5 separate regions of the Homo sapiens genome follow, and all the other regions are linked to region 5. Evidence: promoter capture Hi-C in 16 types of primary human blood cells and fetal thymus (Javierre and others, 2016). All regions are on one chromosome and are shown on one strand. Each heading gives the region's core, a stretch centred on a gene start or on the middle of the fragment in contact. The rest is flanking DNA. Distances are from core to core; before and after follow the strand shown. Region 1 holds the start of LINC01397 (long intergenic non-protein coding RNA 1397). Region 2 overlaps AHCYL1 (adenosylhomocysteinase like 1). Region 3 holds the start of STRIP1 (striatin interacting protein 1). Region 4 holds the start of UBL4B (ubiquitin like 4B). Region 5 holds the start of GSTM4 (glutathione S-transferase mu 4).

Evidence for each region. Contacts are between HindIII fragments. The CHiCAGO score rates a contact against its expected background, and 5 or more counts as called.
Region 1: a contact is called between the fragment with the promoter of LINC01397 here and the fragment with the promoter of GSTM4 in region 5, in 2 of 17 cell types (neutrophils and endothelial precursors). The highest score is 6.2, in neutrophils.
Region 2: a contact is called between a fragment that was not itself captured here and the fragment with the promoter of GSTM4 in region 5, in 2 of 17 cell types (M0 macrophages and erythroblasts). The highest score is 7.2, in M0 macrophages.
Region 3: a contact is called between the fragment with the promoter of STRIP1 here and the fragment with the promoter of GSTM4 in region 5, in 7 of 17 cell types (non-activated CD4 T cells, M0 macrophages, M1 macrophages and 4 more). The highest score is 6.8, in non-activated CD4 T cells.
Region 4: a contact is called between the fragment with the promoter of UBL4B here and the fragment with the promoter of GSTM4 in region 5, in 5 of 17 cell types (M2 macrophages, naive B cells, M0 macrophages and 2 more). The highest score is 7.4, in M2 macrophages.

The regions. Positions count from the first base shown.
Region 1 is chr1:110,081,344-110,084,043 of GRCh38, reverse strand. It overlaps LINC01397 (long intergenic non-protein coding RNA 1397), which reads right to left and starts at 1,356. Exons shown (of 4, transcript NR_126382.1): 1 at 1,192-1,356. The HindIII fragment of the contact is 6,914 bases long and covers 1-2,590 here.
Region 2 is chr1:110,007,106-110,009,805 of GRCh38, reverse strand. AHCYL1 (adenosylhomocysteinase like 1) reads right to left here. Exons shown (of 17, transcript NM_006621.7): 2 at 661-772. Among named protein-coding and RNA genes, the nearest start is that of AHCYL1, 24 kb to the right of the region's middle. The HindIII fragment of the contact is 1,737 bases long and covers 490-2,226 here.
Region 3 is chr1:110,033,355-110,036,054 of GRCh38, reverse strand. It overlaps STRIP1 (striatin interacting protein 1), which reads right to left and starts at 1,431. Exons shown (of 21, transcript NM_033088.4): 1 at 1,238-1,431. The coding sequence starts at 1,417. It overlaps LOC105378895 (a long non-coding RNA gene), which reads left to right and starts at 616. Exons shown (of 3, transcript XR_947693.3): 1 at 616-646; 2 at 2,624-2,700. RefSeq lists silencers at 837-906, 1,147-1,366 and an enhancer at 1,367-1,756. The HindIII fragment of the contact is 6,759 bases long and covers 229-2,700 here.
Region 4 is chr1:110,111,145-110,113,844 of GRCh38, reverse strand. It overlaps UBL4B (ubiquitin like 4B), which reads right to left and starts at 1,402. Exons shown (of 1, transcript NM_203412.2): 1 at 1-1,402. The coding sequence starts at 1,310. The coding sequence ends at 786. The HindIII fragment of the contact is 8,258 bases long and covers 1-2,700 here.
Region 5 is chr1:109,654,849-109,657,348 of GRCh38, reverse strand. GSTM4 (glutathione S-transferase mu 4) reads right to left here and starts at 1,250. Exons shown (of 8, transcript NM_000850.5): 1 at 924-1,250; 2 at 562-637; 3 at 70-134. The coding sequence starts at 959. RefSeq lists enhancers at 24-609, 1,483-1,532. The HindIII fragment of the contact is 5,301 bases long and covers 1-2,500 here.

The DNA.
Region 1 (2,700 bases), core at 107-2,606, 430 kb before region 5:
CGAGGAAAGGTCGCGGCGTGGCGGGGAGACTAGGGCGCCCGGAGGCACAGGGTGCGAAGCTGGAGAGGAGCTGAGAGCCGCCGCCACTGCCGCTGCCGCGCCTGGACCCTCCCTCCGCAGTCCCCGCACCCACGCCGAGACTCAATTACTTTCAGGTGTGGACCATTTAATAAAATAAATCTTCCGGGGCAGGAGGCAAGTTTTTAGGGGCCAAACTCAAAGCAGCCGATTTCTAATGAATAAAGAGGGGCTTCCCTAAAATATCATACGGTTTTGGCGGAGGGGGAACCGAAGTTGGGGAACAGGGAGTGTCTCTTCCTGAAGTGATACTGTCATTGGCTGGGTGGAGAGGCCCGGAGAGACTTACTTTCTGTCGCTTTCTGACTCTCCTTGTCTCTGTCTCCAGCCATCTCTGTTCTTGAGTACATCAGAATGGAATCAACGGTTTTTGCATCGAATCACCATTAAACCAGCCAGATCCTCCCCAAGCGGAGACCCAGTGAAACTGAAAGCTCTTTCCCTCACCTCTTTCTCTTTGTTTCTCCTTTTTCTCCATCATCCATTGCCCAACATTCTCTTCATCTGAGATTTCCAAACCCGGCTTTGCAATACTCCAGGGAGACTCCAATTTACTCTAGGGCTTTGGGAAATGCTCAAAATGAAATAAACTTTAATTGACTTTAATTATTTAACTGCAAGTTATAGACCCCTGATTGGTCAGGGGAAGCAGAGAGGATGTTGGTGAATCAAACAAACCATCCCAGGATGTCACAGCTCCCTGGAGGTGAGGAATGCTGGCTTCAGCATTTCGGGGCTCAGGAACGAATCTGGGCTCCGGAAGAGAAAACCAAGTTCCCAGGAGAGTGGGGATTTGATTTCTTAAGGTTTGGGGTCAAGGAAGGCTCTCACTGACAAGAGGGACTGGACACTCTGTCCTACCCTGGGCTGCCTCCCACACCCCCTTGCTAACCATCTCCATCCCGGTTTTTGGAGGATGAAGGGAGTGGGTTTCTTCCTTCCCACTGCATGTAAAATCCTTCAGTAAGGTCTAGTGACACTGGACAAACTGCTTCCTTCTCTGTTTGCTAGAAAATTCAGACCACAACACAACTTTTGTATGAATTTCCCAGGAATCGGAGCTGATGTAAACACAGTCTATTATGGTTCTGCTCTTTTAGAAGAGTTACTCACCCCAAAGTCTCAGAGGGCTCCTTCTGCCTCCTCACACGGCCAGATCTAGGAAGCTGGTGGAGGGCAACTCACTCTGATGCAGCACCTGACAAGGGCCCACATGTTTCCCGTGCAGAGAACAAATTTGCCCCATTAAAGCGTTACTCTGTTGGGGAAAAGACTGATGCAATATTGGAAACATGCTGGGCCCACTGTGAGAGCCGGAAGAAGAGGCAGATCTTCCCAGGAAGGCAGCAAAGGCCAGTGGGCGAAACTATTCTTGCCACATCCACCCTCACTTGGCCTGGTAAATTAAGGGAGGGATTATTGACCAAAACATCTGCACAGAGCAAGACTATGGTGCTGGTGGTGTCATTACAGGGAGGGCATCTGGGGACAGACAGGGGAAGATGGTGCCAGTGTCTTGGGGAGCAGCCAGGGGAGTGTGACTTGTCCACCTGAGCTTGGGGCCAGACTGGAAAGGGACCATGTAGCTACCAAGTCCACTTCCAAGAGCCTGAACTTTAATGGAAAATAATTCCATAGTTTGGGTCCCAGCGACACTACTGATCTAAGTAGCTTATTAACAAATGGAAAATATATAAACCACACAACAATTGCCTCTAAGAAAAAATGTATTAAAATCCCCCCAAGTTATTTGCAAAATAAATAGCTGAGACCATATGGGTGAGGGGGAGAGTGGCTGTATCCTAACTAGCTGTGTGCTCTTGGCAAAAGTTCCCTCTCTAGGCCTCTGTTCCCTCATTTCTAAGTGAAGATGGCAAACTAGATCAGGGGTTCTCAAATTTTAGAGTACATTAAGATCACCTAGAAGCAACTTGTGAAAACAAGGATTGTTGGGCCCCACCCCGAGAGTTTCTGATTTAGTAGCTCTGGGGTAGGGCCCAACAATTTGCCTTTTTTTTTTTTTTTTGAGATGGAGCCTCGCTCTGTCACCCAGGCTGGAGTGCAGTGACAAGATCTCTGCTCACTGCAACCTCCACCTCCTAGGTTCAAGCGATTCTCCTGCCTCAGCTTCCTGAGTAGCTGGGATTACAGGTGCCTGCCACTGTGCCCAGCTCATTTTTGTACTTTTAGTAGAGTCGGGGTTCCGTCATGTTGCCCAGGCTGGTCTATGAACTCCTGACCTCAAGTGATCCACCCACCTCGGCCCCCCAAAGTGCTGAGATTACAGGTGTGAGCCACCACACCCGGCCATAATTTGCCTTCCTAACAAGTTCCTAGCTGTTGCTTCTGCTGCTGGCCTGAGGCCTATACTTTAAGAACCTTTGGACTCGATGATGTTTAAGCTCCCATCCAGAACCAACATTCTGTTCTATCCCATACTCCTATATTTCCCCTGCACACCCTAGAGTGTTTACAGCCAAATACGAGAGGCCGATGTTTTTACACCCAAGCTTGTACCCCCTGTCATCAATGCAGAATAAATCTTTCAGCTGGCCCACAGAGACTGGTCACCCTGCCCACTGAGGGATTCCTGACCTCTCAGGAAAGATATTCCAATTTGAA
Region 2 (2,700 bases), core at 109-2,608, 350 kb before region 5:
TTCCATGCTAATTTTCTAATACATGCTCTATAGTTGGGAAAGACACAATACAAAACAGAAAAAGACTTTATTTACAGAGAGTTAAGACAGGAGGAGAGAACTAAAAAGAAACAGAGCTGGAGTTACATTACAGTAGTCTGAATCTTTCCTGCTCCAGAGTCTAACAGGGGAGGATATTCCAACAGAAAGAATAACCTAATAAATAAGAGAAGCCAAAATACTAATTTTATTGTTACAATCTAAGCAGTCTTGGAGACAAGAAAGAAAGAGATAGGTGACAGGGTATATTTTACACAAAGAAATCGTGCTTCAAAATGCACTTCTTTTTTAAGTCCAATTCTGTCAGCCAAAATAGCATTGATTTCTTCCTTTTGAAATGGGCGGATCAATGTGGGAATGGGAACTAGCCCAGTCCTACCAACTGGGCACTGGCCACAGACCACACACACAGACAGCCAGGGGGAAGAAAGTCTCGAGTCGACAAAAGCTTCCCCAGCTACTAGCTTGGCTGCAGAACATTCCCACTGCCCAGCCACTAACAGTTTTCAGCACAAAGGTGGGCAGTCATAACATGAGGTATTTTCAGATTGCTAAGTGAAGAGCACTGGTAGCAAACAGGGAAGAGAGATTAGAGAGGACATGGAGTTCATTCACACCTACCTGAACTGTAGCTGTCAGTGGAGGACTGTGAGATCGAGCGAGACAAAGATCTTCGGCCAGTTTTGGTGGGGAATTTGGTGAACTCCTGCATGTCATCAGCAAACTGGATTTGCTATACAAAAGGAAGACAAAAAGTTGAAAACTTATAAGGAAAATCCATGAAATGTTTTTTTTTTTAAGGATACATTGTCTTTCCCTAAAAGCCATGTAATCACATGGTTCCTACTAAGCCAGCAACTTTCCCACCAGAAATGGGGGAAGGCCGAGGCTACTCTCTGACTTCTCCCAACACGTCAATCACTGTCTCTTCCCAATTGTTTCTGCAGGATTTGGGAGGAGGGGCTAAGGTTAAGAACCAATTTCGTTTAGTATATGTTCAATTTTATAAATCTTTCTCACATTCCATCAAGTTTTTTTCCCCTCTTATAACCCTGACAGATTAAACTCTTTACCCTTCTTCCCAAATCTTTCAGAAAACAGAATCTCATAGTGCTACTGGGGTTTTTTGGTTTTTGTTTCAGAATATTCCCTTGTAGCACATTCCTAAAGTTGGCAAATGGTCTTGCTTTCTGAAAGAATTATGAAGAGATGCCTAGAAATGGTGATGGGCATTAGGGTGCCAATACTCAGAGCCCAACCATATGTCTATACTTCACAAAGCCAATGTAATATCTCTAGAACCTCCTATCCTATTAAAAATTTAAAATACCAGAATATAATGATAAAAAGAAAATTAAAAACCCACATACACTATAGTAAATTCTAACTCATTAGGACTAATCTGAAGGAAGGAGAAAATAATGACTTGGTAAACTTTGTATTAAAAACTTCCTTAAATGGGCCAGGTACAGTGGCTCACGCCTGTAATCCCAACACTTTGGGTAGATCACGAGGTCAGGAGATGGAGACCAGCCTGGCCAAGACGGTGAAGCCCCGTCTCTACTAAAAATACAAAAATTAGCTGGGCTTGGTGGCGGGTGCCTGTAGTCCCAGCTACTTGGGAGCCTGAGGCAGGGAATTGCTTGAACCCGGGAGGTGGTGGTTGCAGTGAGCCGAGATCGTGCCACTGCACTCCAGCCTGGGTGACAGAGTGAGACTCTGTCTCAAAAAAAAAAAAAAAAAACCCAAAAAAAAAACTTCCTTAAATGAAATAAGCCAGAACTAGATAATTCTTTGAAGAATAAAACTGGCTCTAATCAATAGCAAATAGCTTGCAATTGATATTATTTATAGATTTATAAAGTGTGTAACACTTTTATTACATGGTTTAAACCTTCCTCCCGAACTCCTGTTTAAACTCTGATAAACCCTTTCTTCAAAATAAAATAAACTTCACCCCTGAAATAAGCAGGATGGTTTGAGTATGTGAACTGAGATTCTGTTCACGATCTGACTAAATCTGAAAAGGTTCCCTTGGAGAATCCATTAAGCTAAGTCTTTAGCAAATACTCTGGAAATGTAAATGACTACAGATTAAAATCTTCTCTGTATAATACTGGCAACATGGTTACAGCCACTTTAAAGCCAGGAACAGTAAACTACCCATTAGTTACAGCTGCAAAAGCTTCTCCTCCTCTTTCACATGTACCCTTCAGCTAGGGGAGCACCAGATTGCAGTGCAGCAATCAGGTTTAAGCGGGCAGCCTAGGCACAAGCAGCTAATATAAACAAATTGGAAACTGATTTCTACAGTCAGTAAAGCTAGTTTTGCTGAAGAAATTAATCCAGGACCAAGGTAATGACTTCCAACTCAATATGCTGTTATTTTGATGATGGAAAAAAATACACAGTCAAGAGACCATCAACCCCTCTTAACACTCTCCAGAGGCAGCCCTTCCTCCACCAGCCTCCCTGCTGCTGGCATATGCAGCCTATTCTATTTGGAAGCTACTCTCCCCTCTGCTATGATTCCTTCCCCTGTTCGCCTTTTTTCAAAGGGTTCTGGGCATGTTCCCAGATACCAGGTACATGGAGGGTGAGGGTGGGGGAGGGAACTGCAATAACACTTGCAGTTTTTCATATAGAAAGGTGGCTGTGGCA
Region 3 (2,700 bases), core at 182-2,681, 380 kb before region 5:
TCATGATGAAGGTAGGTTCACCCCCCTGCACTTTCGTAATCTTCCACTTGAAAAACTGAGTAGTTAACACTGATGTCCGTCATCCCACCATGCCAGGGCTCCTAAATGGTCAGTGTTTTTGTTTTTTTCAAATAATTCACTCCAAGCTCAAATTACGTCTACTTCGGGCTTGCCAATTGTTGACATGTTTTCTCAGGGGTTTAGCCTTGCTAACAAAAAATAAAAGCTTCTGAGGAACTGATTCCACAGGTCTAAAGGTAGTATCATTGCTCTTTGGTATGAATTGGTACATTATGCTTGGACAACTAGGAATTCCCTCTCATTAACTTGGCTGATCAGTTTGGCTGCTGATCAATCTAGGAGATGGCATAGTAAGTGCTCTGGGAACCTGCTCATTAAGAAGCCCTAAAACTCCGCGACATGAGTATCTTCATTCATGAATTCTGCAAAAGGAGGCAGTGGGAGGAATTCCTTAACTTGGGGTGAGGTTACTAGTCAGTTCCAGACTATGCCATCTCCAGAACGGCAGGAACGGCTCACTAGCGAGACAGGAAGGAATGTTGGGTCCTAACGCATGCTTAAAATGTCTATTTCTCATCTTTAACAGTTCAGTATCAGGCGCACTGGGCACAATAGCCCACCACAGGTACTGTTAACCCATGGCCTGATCTGGCTCAGGTCAGAAGAACAGGACATGTTTCCCCCTCCTACTCTACTCTCAATGATAATTAGCTCGGTCCGGCTCTAAGTTCCTTCCAGATCCTCGCCGGCGCCTTCCCTGCCCACACGCGCCTTCCTCTGCGAGCGGCAGGACCCAGGAGCTGGAGCCCGCGTGCCAGGGACAGACGCCCGAGATGATTAGGTTGGGGGCGCGGCAGCCCAGCGCCCTGGAGTGCACCAAGACCCCCGACTCCTCACCCCCGAGCTGGGGCGAGAGCGGCTTCCCCAGGGGCTAGGGCCTCGAGGCCACGCCCACAGTCGGGGCCCAGGGGAGCAAACCAGCAGTCGCCGGCCACGGGAAGCTCTCCCGGGCGGCGGAGCTAGAGCAAGGACTCATGCTCCAGACCCCAGGAGCTGCCAGCCTCGCTTCCTGCTCCTTTCGCTGTATAGTGACAGTTCTCGGCCGGACTCTACCGAGCCCTCCGGGAAGCCCAACCTGGCCCCTAGAGTGGCCCCGGGCCCGGGACCCCCGGCGCCGCCCGACCCGGTGCGAGCCTCGCCCCCCGAAGCTCCTGACCTCTGAGTCTTTGCGCTGGTTGCGGTTGAACTCGCGGGCTTTGCCCCCAGGCAGGAGGCCCGCGGCGGCCCGCGGTGCCCCGGGTGGTGGCTGTGCGGCTGCCGGCGGCGGAGGTGGCGGGGGCTGGGGCTGTTTGTTGTTCACGATCAGTGGGCCCGGACCGCCGACTGCCGGCTCCATCTTGGCTGCTCCACACCCCCAGCTTAACTCGCGCACAGCCGCCGTGATGCAACTCTCGCGTGATTTTCTCCAGGAAATTTCCCTGGCCGCCATATTAAGTGTGGCGGCCAGTGTTAGAAGCCATCTTGGCTGACCAATACCTCGCGATATTCTGTCTGCAGTCCTTCCCTTGTTGATCTTTTTAGTTTTCCACCTTCCTTTCAGTTTCAGTTTAGATGTAATTTTATCTGTGAGGCTTCCCTTAGCTTCTTCAGTCAGTTTAGTTACCCCTCCTTCCTCTAAATCGCTTTGCACTTATAACTCATAGCCTTGTTCAAGGCTTAGGCGGAATTTTGTAATGAACAAAATGGATAGGATCCTAGTCTTCACAGAGTTACCGTTGTGACAAGTGCTTGTCATTCATTCATTCAACAAACATTTAATAAATGTCTCCTGTGCACCAAGCAGTGGGATAAAATGAGGAACAAGTGTCTGCAGTCACGGTACATAACAGTGCTTGGTGGGTCAGACAAACAATAGACAAATATAGAGAAATAAATGCTGAAAAGTGTTAAAGGAAAATTTGTTCATGGCACTAATTAAAGATGGTAAGGCAGACTTTATGTAAGAGAGCCCATGGTGATAGTTACAGGGACCACTACAACCAGATCTTGCAGTGAAGAAGAGGAATTAGACTCAACTCTGACTCCAACAAGATATAGTGGGGATTTATAACCAAAGAGCAGGATGAGGGTCAGTGGACGGAAAACTACTAAGAGAAACATCAAGGATAAGAAGTTTCTTGCTAAACTGACCTAACAGGATTATTGCTGAAAGCAGGACAGGGTGCTAAGATGTTGAGGGTGGTCAGATACCGAGTGCTATGGTTTGACTGTGTCCCCCAAATTCCATACGTTGGAAACTCAATCCTAAAGTTCATATGTTGATGGTATTTGGAGGTGGAGCCTTGAGGGGGTGATTAGGATTAGATAAAATCGTCAGGGTAGGGCCCCTGTGATGGGACTGGTGGCTTTATAAGAAGAGGAAGAGTGATCTGAGCTGGCACACATGCTCTTGCTTTCTCACCGTGAGAGGCTCTCTACCATGCAGTTTAAGAAAGCCCTCACCAAATGCAACCCCTCGACTTTGGGCTCCCCAGACTCCAGAACTGCAAAAAATAACTTTCTTTCCTTTATGAATTACCCAGTGTTTTGTATTCTGTTATAGCAACAAAAAATGGATTAAGACGCCAAGAGTGGAGAGTCCCTGCACAAACTGGATTCAACAAGGACAGAAAGGAAGCC
Region 4 (2,700 bases), core at 153-2,652, 460 kb before region 5:
TTCCTTCCAGGGAGCCTTGGGCAGCGCTGGGCAGGTAATGTGAGCTGTGATACCTACTGACTGATCAGTCTGGGAGGGTGGGGCATGGCTCTGTTCACGCTGGCCACAGGGAGTGTATGACTTTGCTGAACTTTTTTTCTGCCTGAGGCTCAGTTTCCTGCTATTCTTGGTCTGTGTCTGTCTCCCTGAGGGCTCCAGGGCTGGCACCCGGTACGTGCCCTCCTCCCACTCTCACCTCTGCTGTGCCTGTCCCTTAAGCTGGAAGCACAAGCAGGAGAACAGCAGGGGCAGCCTCACCCAGAAGGCAAGGGGCAGCTACCTGACATTCCTCTCCTCTTGGCTGCTGGGGAGCCTAGGGGAGATGTCACGGTCTGAGGATGGAGGAAAATGAACTCACATTGTCTTTCTGTCCCGAAGGAGAAAGAGGGTCTGCCTAGAACCATGGAGACCCTGGGCCAGGGCTGCTTTCAGCCTGGGGAGCTGCTGGGTATGTGTGGGCAAAGCTGCCAGCACAGGAGGGGACTGTGGCCTTTGGGGCTGCCCTCCGGTGATCAGAACCCTTCTAGGGGAAGCATGGTGATGAGGGTTGGTTCACTCTGCATTTCAGAGGGAGGACCTCAGGCCCAAGAGGGGACAGGGATCCAAAAACCCTCCAGCTGCTTGGAAGGTTCAAAAAGGGGTGTGGACGCATCCACATCAGCAGGAAGTAGTAGGAAAAGTCACCAGGGAACACGTAAGGATGAGGCCGGGAGAATTTTAGCATGCAAATGGGTAGGATGGCCCGTTTACTGATCAGCTGCTGCCTCCTCCTTCTCCTCCATGTCACAGGAGCTCTGAGGCCGTGCCTTCGCCTCAAGCTCCCTCTCTCCAGCTGGCTCCACGTGAGGCTCCTCTGCCAGGAGGTACTGGGCCAGCTGCTCCAGGTGCTCCAGGCTTATCTTCTGCAGGCGCTCCTCGTGCTCCTGCCTTAGCAGCTGCAGCACGGCCTTGGCATCCTGTGGTTCAAAGTGTTTAGCTAGGACCAGTCCCAGCTGGTGCCACAGGGGCTGGGTCTGCGGCTGGTGGGCCTCCTTTAGCGCCATCTTCTCCAAGGGCTGCATGATGACATTGATAGAGGCATTGGGCCCAATGCAGTAGTCAGAGAGGTGCTTGTCATCCTCCAGGAGCTGGCCACGGAAAAGCAGGTGCTGCTGCTCCTCAGGCACCTTCAGCCGCCTGGACACCAGTCTCTTCAGCGTGGCTACACTCTCTTGCCCTGACACCTTCAGACTGCATCTCTGGCCCAGGAGCAGCTTGACTGTGAGGAACATCGGGCTGAGTGGAATCAGGAGGGATCCATGCTCTGGGAGCTGCCCTGAAGATTAGGGGGTCCTGCGGGAGATGTTGGCTTCTCCCTATCAACAAAGGGCTAGTAGTCCCAGGAGACCAGGGACCCAGCTTAGGCAGGCAGCCATTGGCTAGTGCACGGTGATGTCACAATGCTGCGGGGGGGCTCATTTCCAGAGTGGAACTTTTGGGACAGCAAAGGGGTATTTGGGCCCAGAGCATCCTTCCTCCACGAGAGGAGAAAAAGAGCACTAGGAAAGAAAATGTGGGACTGGGGGAAATGAGAGTGAGACTAGGGAAAGGGAGGGAGGGAAAGGACAGGGTGGTGGGAGGAGCATGTCTATTGATTTCTTCAACACATGTGTATTAGGTGCCACCTCTGTGCCAGCACCTGGACCTGGGGAGACAGTCATATTCAGATGGATGACTTCTGCCTTCATGACACTTTCACACTAGTGAGCTGGCTAGCATTTATCAAGCGTCCTCTTTCTGTCAAGCACTTTACACGCTCTTTTGGATTGGGCTTTCCAGCAGCAGACACTGAGACAGGGATTTGAGAACAAGTACTCAATTAGGAGGTGATCCCAGGAGGCACCAGGAGGGGAGTGAGGATGTGAGATGAGGACGGGAGGGAAATCAAAACGTGCATTCATGAGCAGGTTGCCATTGTGGGCAACTAGTATGTTATCCTGCTGGGGAGTTCTGGGAGGTTGCATGGAACACACCTGAGTTGCACCAGGTGTGGTTTTTTTGTTTTTTTTTTTGTTTTTTGAGACAGGGTCTCACTCTGTTGCCCAGGCTGGAGTGCAGTGGCATGATCTCGGCTCACTGCAACCTCCGTTTCCTGGGTTCAAGTAATTCTCCTGTGTCAGCCTCCCAAGTAACTGGGGCTACAGCTGCACGCCACCATGCCTGGCTAATTTTTGTATTTTTAGTAGAGATGGGTTTCTCCATGCTGCCCAGGCTGATCTCAAACTCCCAGACACAAGCAATCTGCCTGCTTTGGCCTCCCAAAGTGCTGAGGTTACAGGCGTGAGCCACCGCACCTGGCCGAACCTGCATCTTTATGCTCTGACTCCTGTCTTTGGCTAATAGAAGTGCTACCTCCTTGGCACTTCTGGTCCACAGGTGTTAAGCAGCATGCTCCTGTGACCACAGAAAAGTAGGAAGCCATCGGGCCCTCAGGAATGTGAGTGCTGAGGGGATGGGGCAGGACAGCCCACAGCATCTGCATCACAGGCCTGCCTAATTGAATCCTCTCAACCTATGAGGCAGGCACTGCCATGATCTCCATCTGCCAGAGGAGAAAGTGGAGGCTTGGCTGATCCTACAGCAAGCAGGCAGAATTGCTCTTGTCTTCACTGTTACCTCATG
Region 5 (2,500 bases), core at 1-2,500:
TGGGGAGAGGAGATGCAGTCAGAGACACGTCGCACTTTCCCCCAAAACCGCCCCTTCCCCTGCACCTACATTGGGAAAGTCCAGGCCCAGCTTGAATTTTTCATTCAGCCACTGGCTTCTGTCATAGTCAGGAGCTGCCGTGGGGAAGAAGAAGTGAAAACAAACCTCCCCAGAGCCCAGCCCTCCTTCCCGGGGACCCTCCCAAGGAACCAGTGGCAAGATCCCTGAGACAGGTGGATCTAGAATCTGACCACTCAGTCCCACATCCCAGGGTTCAGGGACAAAGAATCCCGCTGAGGGCTCTGGACCCCACACGGCTAAGGCTTCCAGGGTTTAGGGAAGCTCTGAGGGACACCCAACCCAATTAAACAGGGGGCCCAGCATCCCGCCCCAGCATTCTGCCTTGCAAGGCCACAGGACTCCCTCACCGGGGCTCAGGGAAGGGACAGCCTGCAGCTCCAGCAGGGGAGGCCTGCAGAGGTAGCCACAGGTGGCCACCATGGGTTGCTTGGTGCCAACTCAGCGTGAGTGGGCAGAGCCCGGACACAAGGGTGTCATTACCGTCCCCCATCGTATACTTCTTTTCCTCGTAGCTTGAGTCTGTGTATTCCAGGAGCAGGCGGATGGCGTGGGCCAGCTGGAAGAGATGGCCCGCAGGTCGTGTCAGAGATGGAGGGTCCCTGACTTGGTGACTTTCTCTGCACCAGGTGAGCCCCTAGTCTACACTGCACTGCACCCCCCCCCCACCCCGGCGCACGCACACACACACACACACACACACACACACACACACACACAGGCATGCACAGGCCCTCCTGTGAGAGATAGCCCTAAGGAGGGAACCGTCCCTAGAGCCGGTCCCCAGCCGCTCGGCACTTCCCGCCCACGCGCCCGGTCCCACAGTGCAGCGGACCCTCACTCACCCCGCGGATGTCCCAGTACCCCAGTGTCATGGACATGATGCTGGTTGGTGTCGATTCTGCAGACAGGCCTCAGCTGGGCTGAACTGCGACCTCCTCTGGGGTTCCCGGCACGCAGGGGCTGGACCTAGCGCCAGACCCGCCCCCTCGGCCCCGCTGCGCCCGCCGATCTTCAAGGTCGTCACTTCCAACCGGCCGATCTTCAAGGTCGTCACTTCCAACCAACAGGCGCGGGAGGCACGGAGCAGGTTGCTGGATCCTCACTGGCTGGAAGGAGTAAGATCCACCGCCACCTCCGAGTGTTCAGGGAGCAAGGTCCGGAAGCACTAGGAGGGGCTCGGCCTCGCCAGCTTCCGTAGCCCCGCCCCGCCCCGCTCCGCTTCGGACCTCTGCTGGGTCCCCAGGGACTCGGCTGTGCGCGTGAGAGTAAAGCCAGATCGTAAGAGAAAAGTTCTTCCCCCGTTTCTTCTTCTCCGGACGTCGCCCAGCCTTCTGCCTCTCGGCTGCCGAGTTCCCACAGGCTCTGGGAGACTGAGGCTGCCAGGGTCAGACTAAAGAGAGGTCTCAGAGAGTTTAATTCAACACTTCTTGGCTACTAAGTCTTAGAAGTCTGATGGTGTGCTCTCTCTGCTGAGTTGGGGAGCGTGAATGGAGGCTATGTCACCGAAGCTGATAGAGCTCAGTCTCTGTTGCAGATGCTCCCGACCCTTTTGCATTGGGCCAGTTCCCCAGCTCTGAGACTGGGTCCAGGCTCAGGAAGTGGCCTATGTGTCAAGGTGGATTCCCATGTAGGTTTGCCTACAGCAAGACGATAGCACCATGCACACACAAGTGCTTGGACTTCTGAATAGTTATACTTCTCATTATACATTAAGACATTAAGAATGTGTCATTCTGAGTCTTTTTTTTTTTTTTTTTTTTGGAACGGGGACTCGCTGTGTTGCCCAGGCTGGAGTGCAGTAGGGCGATCTCGGTTCATTGCAACCTCCGCCTCCCGGGCTCAAGCGATTCTCCTGCCTCAGCCTCCCGAGCAGCTGGGATTACAGACGAGCGCCACGACGCCCTGCTAACTTTTTTGTATTTTCTGTAGAGATGGGATTTCACCGTGTTGACCAGACTGGTCTTGAACTCCTGGTCTCAAGTGATCCACCCGCCTCCGCCTCCCAAAGTGCTGGGATTACAGGCATGAGCCACGGTGCCTGGCCTGTCATTCTGAGTTTATCCATCTTGAGCTGGGAAAGATAAAATGTCTAGGTCCAATTGTGAAGATGATTTTTTAAGAAAGCTAACACTTATGAGAATAATTATGAAAGAAACAGAATTGATATTGTTACATTAGTATTCACCCATTTGGTCATTCCTTTATTGAAACAACAGTTGTTGAGATCCTACCATATTCCAGGCACTGGGAATAAAACAATCCTTCAAAAACACTGTACTTTGGCCACCTACGACTAGAAGTCAGGTGGGAACTACAGGGGAGAGATTTTGAAAATACGGGACACTTCTTACTGTTTTTGCACACTGAGAGGCAGTGGAGTGGGAGAGGGGTTGAGTGTAGGAGAGAGAAGCGGTGCCTG